2 separate regions of the Homo sapiens genome follow, and region 2 is linked to region 1. Evidence: promoter capture Hi-C in 16 types of primary human blood cells and fetal thymus (Javierre and others, 2016). All regions are on one chromosome and are shown on one strand. The core of a region is centred on a gene start or on the middle of the fragment in contact, and the rest is flanking DNA. Distances in the headings are between cores, read along the strand shown. Region 1 holds the start of FAT4 (FAT atypical cadherin 4). Region 2 has its middle 190 kb from the start of MIR2054.

Region 1 (5,235 bases), core at 935-3,434:
TATTGCACTGATTGAATACTTTCCATTTCACAGAATGAATGATCTTCACCTGTTTCCCAAATTAAATTCACTCATATATAATGCAAATGTAATACTATTGACACTAAATCTGAAGATTATCCCACAGGCAAAAAAAAACAAGCAAACCAACAAAAGTCCATGATCTCCTACAACAAGTATCTGAATGATTTCTTTCTGTTTATTTCTCTATAAATACTTGAATAATAGTGCATTAGGAAACAAAATAAAACAAAACAGTAATATTCTCTTAAAATCACACAGACATGATTTGTAAAAATTTGTAAAAATTTGTTTGCCACTTTAGTTAATCTACAAATATTTTTTGGCTAAATTATACCAAAAATAATGGTGTTAGGATTGTAACTTAAGAAAAATACGATTTTTGAAAAACAGGCTTAAATGTCTCTAAAAAGTCTAGAGTCTAATGTTTTCAAGTTTTAAAATACATAAATGGTTAAATTTAACTTTTTTGTCTGTTTCCAGTTAACTCATTACATTACAGTAGAGGAATATGTAGAAGTTAGCTTTTTAACCTAAACAGAGGAATTGGTGATAGCTTTAGAAATCATGTTTCCATAAATCAGTTTTGAGTTACAGGCTGCCTGCATCATCAAGACTTGAATTTGCTGTCTGTCCTACTATTCTTGATTTTTTTTTTTTTACTCTAAATAAGAAAGGCACTAGGAAAGTCTTAGAGATCGTTTTCTTTGCTGCTATCCCTAGGCAAGAAGCAGGAATTAGCCTTGTAATCCGATCCTTTTAGTCTCTGCATTTAATTTTAAGCAAGAAACCAGGAGACTAAAGATGTAAGACTGACGTAGAACAGCAGAGGGCAGTATTTACTCATGACTGAACCCTCTCTGGGCGCAGAAAGTTTTACGTTTGTGAGGGATCCTTGTGGCAGAAATGTATGACATATGCCCTGTATTTGCATTGTTTGGCTTGAATTCTTATTTTCTAGGTTGGTTCCCTTAAAGGGGAAAAATATCGATCTGATTCCTAGTAACGTTTTTCTTCTTTTAAAGAAACGATGCATGCCACCACAAAAATTAACTGCAGTGAATAGTGGGTGAGTTGATCTGAGTGCATTAAGTGGCATGTGGGTATTTTTAAAAACTTAAGCTTAAATATTATTTTATTTATTTCTACTTTCTCGTATCTATTTCTCCCAGACTGAAAAGCAAAATAAAACTTTATTAGGTTTCCTTTGACTAAAAAATGTGGAGGTGGAAATACTCCATCAGGGATCAAAATTCCAAACTAACTTTGCAACAGGAAAAGATCTCCCTCTTTTCAAAGGGCTGCCATTATTATTGTTGTTGAAACCCTAAGGTTTGGGCTACTGGCACCTGGAATCCAGTTGGGAAAGAAAACAAAACAAACACTGAGTTCCCCTGGCCTTTCCTATAGTAGGAAGTCCAAAGTGCCCTTGCTACGGAGGCCTCCTGCCCCCTAGTCACCTGGAAGGTGGGGGAGAGGGGCAAGTGAGTGAAGATTTAGAGTTTAGCTCGCCCTAGACAGCAGGGAGCCCACTGTGTAGAAAGAGGAGCAAAGGGGAGGATTTGATTTGGATTCTGTGGGATCACACTGTATGGCAGCTCTATCCCTTGCATAAAGAGAGAAGGGGCAGGAAATGGTTAAAGCAAATCTGCACTGTGCATTCCCAGACAGGCTTTGCTTAATCCTTCCTCCCCGCTTTAACAGACCCTCACCCCCCGCCTTTCTTTTATTTCTCTCGACCCCCTTACCCCTGAGTTATTACTAGCATAACAACCTAACGGTCTTCCCCCAGACCCTGCCACTAAAGTTATTTATCTGCAAACCTGACCCCACCCCCATCTATTCTGCGGCAGCCTTTTGCTGTTATTGCTCTGACGCCGGCCAAGATTTGGCCGAAAAGGAAAAAAAAAAAAAAAAAAGAAAAGAAAAAAAATCACCCCCCTTTTTAGCGCCTCCGCCTCGCTGTGCTCCCACACCAGACCGCCTACAGCCCTCCGGGAGGCTGAAGTGATTAGCATCCCGAGAAGCCAGTCGGAGGCCGGGCAAGGCGGAGGGCGCTCGCGGTAGGAGTGCCGGTCGGGGCTGCTTCAGCTCCGGCCCAATGGGGCTGGGGCGAGGGAGGGGCAGAAGGTGACAGGACTGGGAGCTAGGGGGAGTCCAGGCGAACTAAAGTGCGGGGATCAATGAGTGTCGAGCAAAGTTTCTGAGTGCTGCTCCAGCTCGCGGTCTTCCCTCCCCCTCTGTTTGTGTTTCGGCGACGCGCTGTGTGTGTGTGTGTGCGTGTGTATGTGTGTGTGTGTGCATGCCTGTGCGGCGGGGAAGGGGCGGGGAGAGTGTGAGGGACCAGGCGGGAGGTGGAGAAGGGCTCGCGGAGCCCTAGCTCCACCGCAGTCCAACCTTCGGCCCCGGCCGGCGAGAGGGAGAGCGCTGACAGGCGCCGTCCGGAGCTGCGGAGGGCGTCACTACAGCCCAGCGCCGACTTCGCCGCCTCCGCTGCCAACTGTGAAGGAGAGAGAGGCATCAACCACCCCCCGCCCCAAACAAAAAGCCTTGTGGATTACAAAGTGAAACTGACACGGGACAATAAAAGCAGAGATAGCGAGGGCAGGGGCGAGGCGCGCTAGAGTGGGCTTCTGACTGGGGCCGCCGGAGAACGACCCCCCCTGGCATGGTGAGGGGAGGGCGACTCGGGGACCGCACGCTGTTTCTGCCCGACCCCTGCGAGGCCGAGAAGAAAGGGGAAACTGCGTTCGATTTGGATGTACAAATAATGGGTCGGCAGGCGCCCCGGCAGAGGTGAAAAATGCCGAGGAGCCCTGGCTGTTGTTTGTGCCGGACCACGGGCTTGAAGCCGCAACAGGGGCGGCGGCGGCGGCGGCTGCAGGAGGGGAAGGGGCAGAGTTGAGCGCTCCCGGGTACGGGAGCCAGAGCGCGAACGCTAGCGCTTGGAACGCAGTTCCCGAACTGCCTGCGCGCAGACGCCGCCGCCTGGGCCTCAGCGGCCACTGCCGGCGCCCTGTTGGAGGGGCGTTGCAGCCTGGTTTTTGAGGAGTGGGGACTCCAGGAATTCCATCGCCTCCAGCTTTTGGGAAAGAAATTCGATTCTCCCGGTTCCCCACCACCCCTTCCCCGGTGCGCAGTTGTGCTTGGACGTTTGTTCCTCCCTCTTCACGTTCTTCGCTGCGGGTAAGTTCTAAAGTTTCTGAAGACCGTTCTTTGCAATGATTCCTCATATACCTTAGATACAGGCAACTTCTCCCAACTCTCATCCACCCGGGTGAAAACGCTCAGACTATCTGGATTCAAAAACAAAGTAAAAGGGGGCATATATAAGAGGCTTGAGAAACTTTTCTGGGAACTCAGCTCACAGGAGTGTCCCGCGGAATGCCCTGCCGCTTTTCGCCACAGCATCTCTCTTGCACTCCGCGTTCAACTGGCTACCTAGAGTCTTTTGCTGATGCTACTTGCTTTTGCCGGACTGGAGGTTCTTTGAAATAGCAGAGGTCTCAGACCAAGCCGTCAGCTGAATCTTTGCTGGCGCTCCTTAATCCCTGTAAATATCATTGCGTTTGCTTCACCCCTTCCTTCTCTTTATCACATCGTTTTAGGGAGCCAGGACCATGGACTTAGCACCAGACAGGGCTACTGGCCGCCCGTGGCTCCCGTTGCACACTCTATCAGTATCTCAGCTCCTTCGAGTGTTTTGGCTACTGTCATTGCTTCCGGGGCAGGCCTGGGTCCACGGGGCCGAGCCGCGCCAGGTGTTCCAAGTGCTGGAAGAGCAACCTCCAGGCACTCTGGTAGGCACCATCCAGACGCGCCCCGGCTTCACCTACAGGCTCAGCGAAAGCCACGCCCTGTTTGCCATAAACAGTAGCACCGGAGCCCTGTACACCACCTCCACCATCGACCGCGAGAGCCTGCCCAGCGACGTGATCAACCTGGTGGTCCTTTCCAGCGCGCCCACCTACCCCACCGAAGTGCGAGTGCTGGTGCGGGACCTCAATGACAACGCCCCCGTTTTCCCGGACCCCTCTATCGTGGTCACTTTCAAGGAAGACAGTAGCAGCGGACGCCAAGTCATCTTAGACACCGCCACCGACTCGGACATCGGCTCAAACGGTGTGGACCACCGCTCCTACCGCATCATCCGCGGCAATGAGGCGGGGCGCTTCCGTCTGGACATCACCCTGAACCCGAGCGGCGAGGGAGCGTTCCTGCATCTGGTGTCCAAGGGCGGACTGGACCGTGAGGTCACTCCGCAGTACCAGCTCCTGGTTGAGGTGGAGGACAAGGGTGAGCCTAAGCGGCGGGGCTACCTTCAGGTAAACGTGACTGTGCAAGACATTAATGACAACCCCCCGGTTTTTGGCAGTTCTCACTACCAGGCGGGGGTGCCTGAGGACGCGGTTGTGGGTTCCAGCGTCCTCCAGGTGGCGGCGGCGGACGCGGACGAGGGCACCAACGCGGACATCCGCTATCGCCTGCAGGACGAGGGGACCCCCTTCCAAATGGACCCTGAGACGGGACTTATCACGGTGCGGGAGCCCCTGGACTTCGAAGCTCGGCGCCAATACTCGCTTACGGTGCAGGCGATGGACAGAGGCGTGCCTTCCCTCACTGGGCGCGCCGAGGCGCTGATTCAGCTGCTGGACGTGAATGACAATGACCCGGTAGTGAAGTTCCGCTACTTCCCGGCCACCTCGCGCTACGCCTCGGTAGATGAGAATGCTCAAGTGGGCACCGTGGTGGCTCTGCTCACCGTGACGGACGCAGATTCTCCCGCGGCCAACGGGAACATCTCCGTGCAAATTCTCGGGGGCAATGAGCAGCGCCACTTTGAAGTGCAAAGCAGCAAAGTGCCGAACCTGAGCCTAATCAAGGTGGCCAGCGCCTTGGACCGCGAGCGCATCCCTTCCTACAACCTCACAGTTTCCGTCTCTGATAACTACGGGGCGCCCCCTGGCGCAGCAGTCCAGGCGCGCTCTTCTGTGGCAAGCCTGGTGATTTTTGTTAATGACATCAATGACCATCCTCCTGTCTTTTCACAGCAAGTGTACAGAGTGAACCTGAGCGAGGAGGCGCCTCCGGGAAGCTATGTGAGTGGGATATCTGCCACTGATGGCGACTCTGGTCTCAATGCTAATCTGCGTTACAGCATTGTCTCTGGCAATGGACTGGGATGGTTCCATATCAGTGAACATAGCGGCCTCG
Region 2 (5,235 bases), core at 987-3,486, 390 kb after region 1:
CAGGGAACATTTGTACACTGTTGGTGAGAGTGTAAATTAATTCAACCGTTGTGGAAAGCAGTATGGCCATTCCTCAAAGAGCTACCATTTAACCCAGCAATCCCATTACTGGGTGTCTATGCAGAGGAATATAAATAATTCTATCATAAAGACACATGTATGCAAATGCTCACTGCAGCACTATTCATAATAGAAAAGACATGGAATCAACCTAAATGACCATTAATAACACACTGTATAAAGAAAATATGGTACATATATACCATGGAATACTATACAGCCATTGAAAAGAATGAGATAATGTCTTTTGTGGGAACATGGATGGAGCTGGAGGCTATTATCCTTAGCAAACTAACTCAGAACAGAAAATGAAACACCGTATAGTCTCACTTATAAGTGGAAGCTAAATGATGAGAACCTATGAATAAAAAGAAAGGAACAAGAGACACTGAGGGCTACTTGAGGGTGGAGGGTGGGAAAAGGGATAGGAGCAGAAAAAATAACTATTGGGTACTAGGCTTAGTACCTGGGTGATGAATTAATCTGTAAAATGAACCCCTATGACATGAGTTTACCTATATAAGAAACCTGCACATGTATCCCCAAACCTAAAATAAAAGTTAAAACAAAAATCAACCAACCAAAAAACAAAAGAAAACTAAAAATACAAAACAACATAGTAAAATTGTATGACCTAGTATTTCTTATTCCATTGACTCCATGCAAAAGATAATAAAGTCCTAAAAAGGGCAAGTGCAAAAAAAAAAAAAAAAAGGCATTCAAGAAGTAACTAGTAATAAAATAAGGAGCATCCCAAAGCAGAACTAAGGGCAGAGAGGAGGATCCCAAAATATAGAGGAAGAGCTTTTAGGTGGATCACTTAGGAAAAGATTAAAAAAGACACCTTCCTCCCAAACTTATACTAAAAAAGGATGACCTTTGATTTACCTGGATTTATATTTCCTTGGTTATTTGGCATGTCCTTTCCCTAATTCTCTATCTAAAGTATAATCTTCACCAGTGCTAATCACCCACTGTGGGTATTTCATCATCAATTTATCATTATTAAATTGTTAGGACTGTAAAAGATTTTTAAAATTCTTTTGTCCATAATATATTCAGATTTGAAGACCATTAGCAAATAATTGTCTGGTTGTATGCTTTGTACACCTGTATAGTCTGTATACCAAAAGCTTCTTTGTTTTTTTTTTTTTTTGAGACCGAATTTTGCTCTTGTTGCCCAGGCTGGAGTGCAATGACGTGATCTTGGCTCACCGCAACCTCCACCTCCCGGGTTCAAGCGATTCTCTTGCCTCAGCCTCCAGAGTAGCTGAGATTACAGGCATACGCCACCATGCCTGGCTAATTTTTTTGTATTTTTAGTAGAGACAGGATTTCTCCATGTTGGTCAGGCTGGTCTTGAACTCCCGACCTCAGGTGATCCGCCCGCCCCAAAAGCTTCTTAAAATTTTATTATACATTTTATGATTATCTTATCAAGAGAAAGGAATTATTTATTCACTCTTTAAGTCTGATCTGGGTTGCCTTCATTAAAATACTGTGAGAGAAGCTATGGAGTTATAGTTCCCGGTCTATCAAGAAAACTTGCATGCTTCCAACTCATTTTTTTTTTTGGAATGCTACCACCAACATGTAAATAAGCACAGGGTCACCTGCTTGAGGAAGAGAGGCCCATTACTCAGCCATTCCTGCCATCCCAGCCAACAGCCAGCCAACTAAGAGATATGTGAAAGAGGTCATTCTAGACCATCCCATCTACCCTTCACCCAATCTATAAGTTAATTTCAGGCACATGAGCAAGCATAGGCAGGAGAAGTGGTATTATCCAGGTGACCCACAGACTTAGGAGCAATAATAAATGCTTATTTATTTAGGCCACAGAGTTTTGTGTTTATTTCTTATACTGAAAGAGGTAACTAATATAGGAATTGATGCATAGAACTAGAGTGCCACTGACCTAAAATGTGAGACTCTGGTTTGAGAGTGAAGCAGCAAGCAGGCAATGGGAAACATGGTGAGCAAATATTTAGTAGAAACTGGAGAAACGGTGAGAGCTTGCAATTAGAGTCTGGGAAAATAGAGCCTCATGTTACAAAATAACAAACAATAGGCACGACTATACCAATATACATGTTTCTAATAAACTTTTGGACTTTGGCAAAATGATTTTCAGACAAAAAGTTGAAAGTAGATGTTTACTTCTTTTAGCTGCATATGGTAAATGCTGCATATAGTAAATGCAGCTGCTATATGCAGACCATATAGTAAATATTTTTTGCTTTGTGACTTTACTGTCTCTTTCTCAACTATTGAAATTTCCTGTCCTAAATGCAGAAACAGCCAGGGCCAACATGTAAATAAATAAGTGTAGCTGTGTTTCAAAAAAATATTTATGGACATTAGCATTTGAATATAAAATAATTTGCATGCACTACAAAATATTATCCTTCTTTTGATTTTTAAATCATTAAAAATGTAGAAAACAGTAACAGTTCACAGCCCATAGTTAAACAGGTAGTAAGCTGAATTTGTCCTGCAGGCTTAGCTTGAAAACTTTGAGCTAGACAAAGAACTTGCTAGTTTTCAAGGAGAATTTAAAGGAATATAAATAAATAAAATTATTTCTCATCTTCCATCTTCTCAAACAATAAGAGTTCTAACAAAAAAGTTCTGAGGACAAGATCTAATCAAATGTGCCCAGGTTTTGCTTTCAGCTACATTAAAGGGTTTCTAAGAAACTTCAGGTTCTTGTCCCGTAACAGCTTGACATAGACAAAGAATCTGTGAGTAAGAAAGAGACACATGTTTCCCAAATAATGGTGGATTTGGTTGTTAGAATGGACTTGAGTCTGATTCATCAGAGCAAGCCAATGAAGTTTTAAAGTGAGTTATACTTTCAAAAGAACTTGCTTCTCTTAAATCCTGCTCAGTTACCAGATGAACAAACCCAAACTTGGCATGGGGGAGAACTAAAGCACCATCATGAACATCAAGCAAGCTTCTAGAAGCAGAGCTGCCAAGGTGATTCACAGATAATCACAGGTGATGAGGGAACTCTAGACTGGAACAACTACTCAATTGACTTGTAGACTCGTGAGCAAAAACACATTTATTTTTAGTCCACTAAATTTTGGAACGACTTTTTGTGTAGGAATATCTAGCTGATGCAGAATATTTCATTATTCAATTGTTTGTGTTAGCACATTGTTGGAGAGGGCTTGAGTTGGTAAAACACACAGTATTGAAATATTCCTTATGGCATAATGTATTTGGAATGGAAGCATCTGAGCAGTTATTAATTAGCATTGTATATGCTGCGCACAATGAAGATTAATTTTATCTTCTTAAAATCAAATAATAGTTTAGTTTTTACTAACTAGATGTATGCAGTATACTTTACTGAATTGCTTTTAAGTCTAATCCGGTGGAGCAAGGCTCATCAGTGAAACTAGGCCAAGTGTACAGTGTATAGTTTTCCAGATCATGAGATCTGCATTCTCATTTTCACAAAAGAATCTATATATTGCTTTTTATTATTGAGTTATAGGTCTCAGAATACTGTTCAAGCAAAATAATCAAGAGGCCATTAGCCTGGGGTTGTTATCTGTACCAGGAGTTCTTTTCTAAGAAAACAGAAACTTAACTTGGAAACATTTTTTGTAACTGACTTAAGAAAAAAATGTGCCTCAGCCATTCACAAACAGCCAACCAGCTCTTGGTCTGATCATTCATCAGATGTAACCAAATAGGCAAATGCTTCATCACAGCTCACCAAAATGCCTAGCTGTAGCCAATCAGGTAATTACTTTGTTTCCTTTATTGGTCTATAAAAGCTCCCTGCTCACTTTGTGAAGCAGAACTTTCTGGACCTCCTCTGGTTCTGAATGCTGTCCATTCATGAATTGTTCTTTGCTCAAATAAACTGTGTTACATTTAATTTGTCTGAAGTTTTTCTTTTAAGAGTGCTTTTGAATGTCGATGTCTATATGCTTTGCTTAATCACATTTATTTTTACCCTAAAACATAAATTGAAGAACAATGCAAAACATACACACACCCAAAACAAAGATACATGCAACTATTTTGGTATTTAAGAGTAGGTAGGACATGCACTGAAACAAAAAAATCTCTGAGGAGGGTAAACTTAATATTCAGTCTGCATGATTACAGCAGCTCTGGAGGGATATGGCTCATACAGTTTTCACACACATTGTAAAACACAACATTTTCAGACACTATTAATTTTGTAGCTAAAATCTGTGAGAAGAAAATCAGTGTTGACTCAACATGTCAATTAAACAATCTCTAATTGAACTTTAGTCCATTCTTACCCTTATTTTCATTGCTGATGAGAGAGAGAGAGAGAGGGAAGCTTATATTCCATTTGCTCATAAAATACCCAGTGCAAGAATATCATTGTCTGTACCTACGGGTCCTTTAAAATCACTGTCAACAGCAGAAGAGAAGTGTAACTTTCTTAGATATTTGGTTAGCCTGTGGGTTTCTGTAAAATTTAAACTGTTTCTCTAAAATAAGCAGAACCAATGAAAAGGAAAAGGAATTTGTTTTAAATGATCAAACTGGAAAAATGACCAGAAAACCCCTCTGGCCATTTTCTTCTTTTAGTTCTATGTTCTTCTAACCATCATTTATGGGCCACTTGAGACACGAAGGAAAGGATGTTAAAGGCCCTGGAGATAATGTAGCTGCATTAGCAAAGTACCAGAACACATGTAAAAGGCTTGTAAAGCATTTGGCACTACAGCTCTGACATATAAACTGTGCTACAATTGTCTTCATTTCCTCTTGTCTCTGACTCATTCATGGTTTCTTATTCTGATGATAGAAATGCTGACCTGAAGGAAAATTATAAAATGTTCTAACATGGAAACTTATGCACTTCAAAATAATTGCAGTAGGTAAAATTTAAAAATGGGAAAATAAGCATACTGTATGTATCTTCATTGAAGTTACTACACATAATGTTTTATTATGGCTTCTATAATAAATTACTTTACCCTTGATTATGACTTTTACACATTACTATGAATTCCTTTCTGCAATCCAGAGAATAACATGCAATAATGATTAAAAGATGTGTCAAGGAATACTTCACTTGGTAATTTTAAGAAGTGTTGAAAAATTGGCTAGTAGAAAATTTATCACGATTGATATTGTCCTGTGTGAATGAAGTTTAAACAGATTATTATTAAT

What was found. Contacts are between HindIII fragments. The CHiCAGO score rates a contact against its expected background, and 5 or more counts as called.
Region 2: a contact is called between a fragment that was not itself captured here and the fragment with the promoter of FAT4 in region 1, in 2 of 17 cell types (megakaryocytes and endothelial precursors). The highest score is 5.1, in megakaryocytes.

The regions. Positions count from the first base shown.
Region 1 is chr4:125,312,771-125,318,005 of GRCh38, forward strand. It overlaps FAT4 (FAT atypical cadherin 4), which reads left to right and starts at 2,185. Exons shown (of 18, transcript NM_001291303.3): 1 at 2,185-3,207; 2 at 3,630-5,235. The coding sequence starts at 3,642. The HindIII fragment of the contact is 5,556 bases long and covers 1,142-5,235 here.
Region 2 is chr4:125,698,864-125,704,098 of GRCh38, forward strand. No RefSeq gene overlaps it. Among named protein-coding and RNA genes, the nearest start is that of MIR2054, 190 kb to the left of the region's middle. The HindIII fragment of the contact is 1,561 bases long and covers 1,457-3,017 here.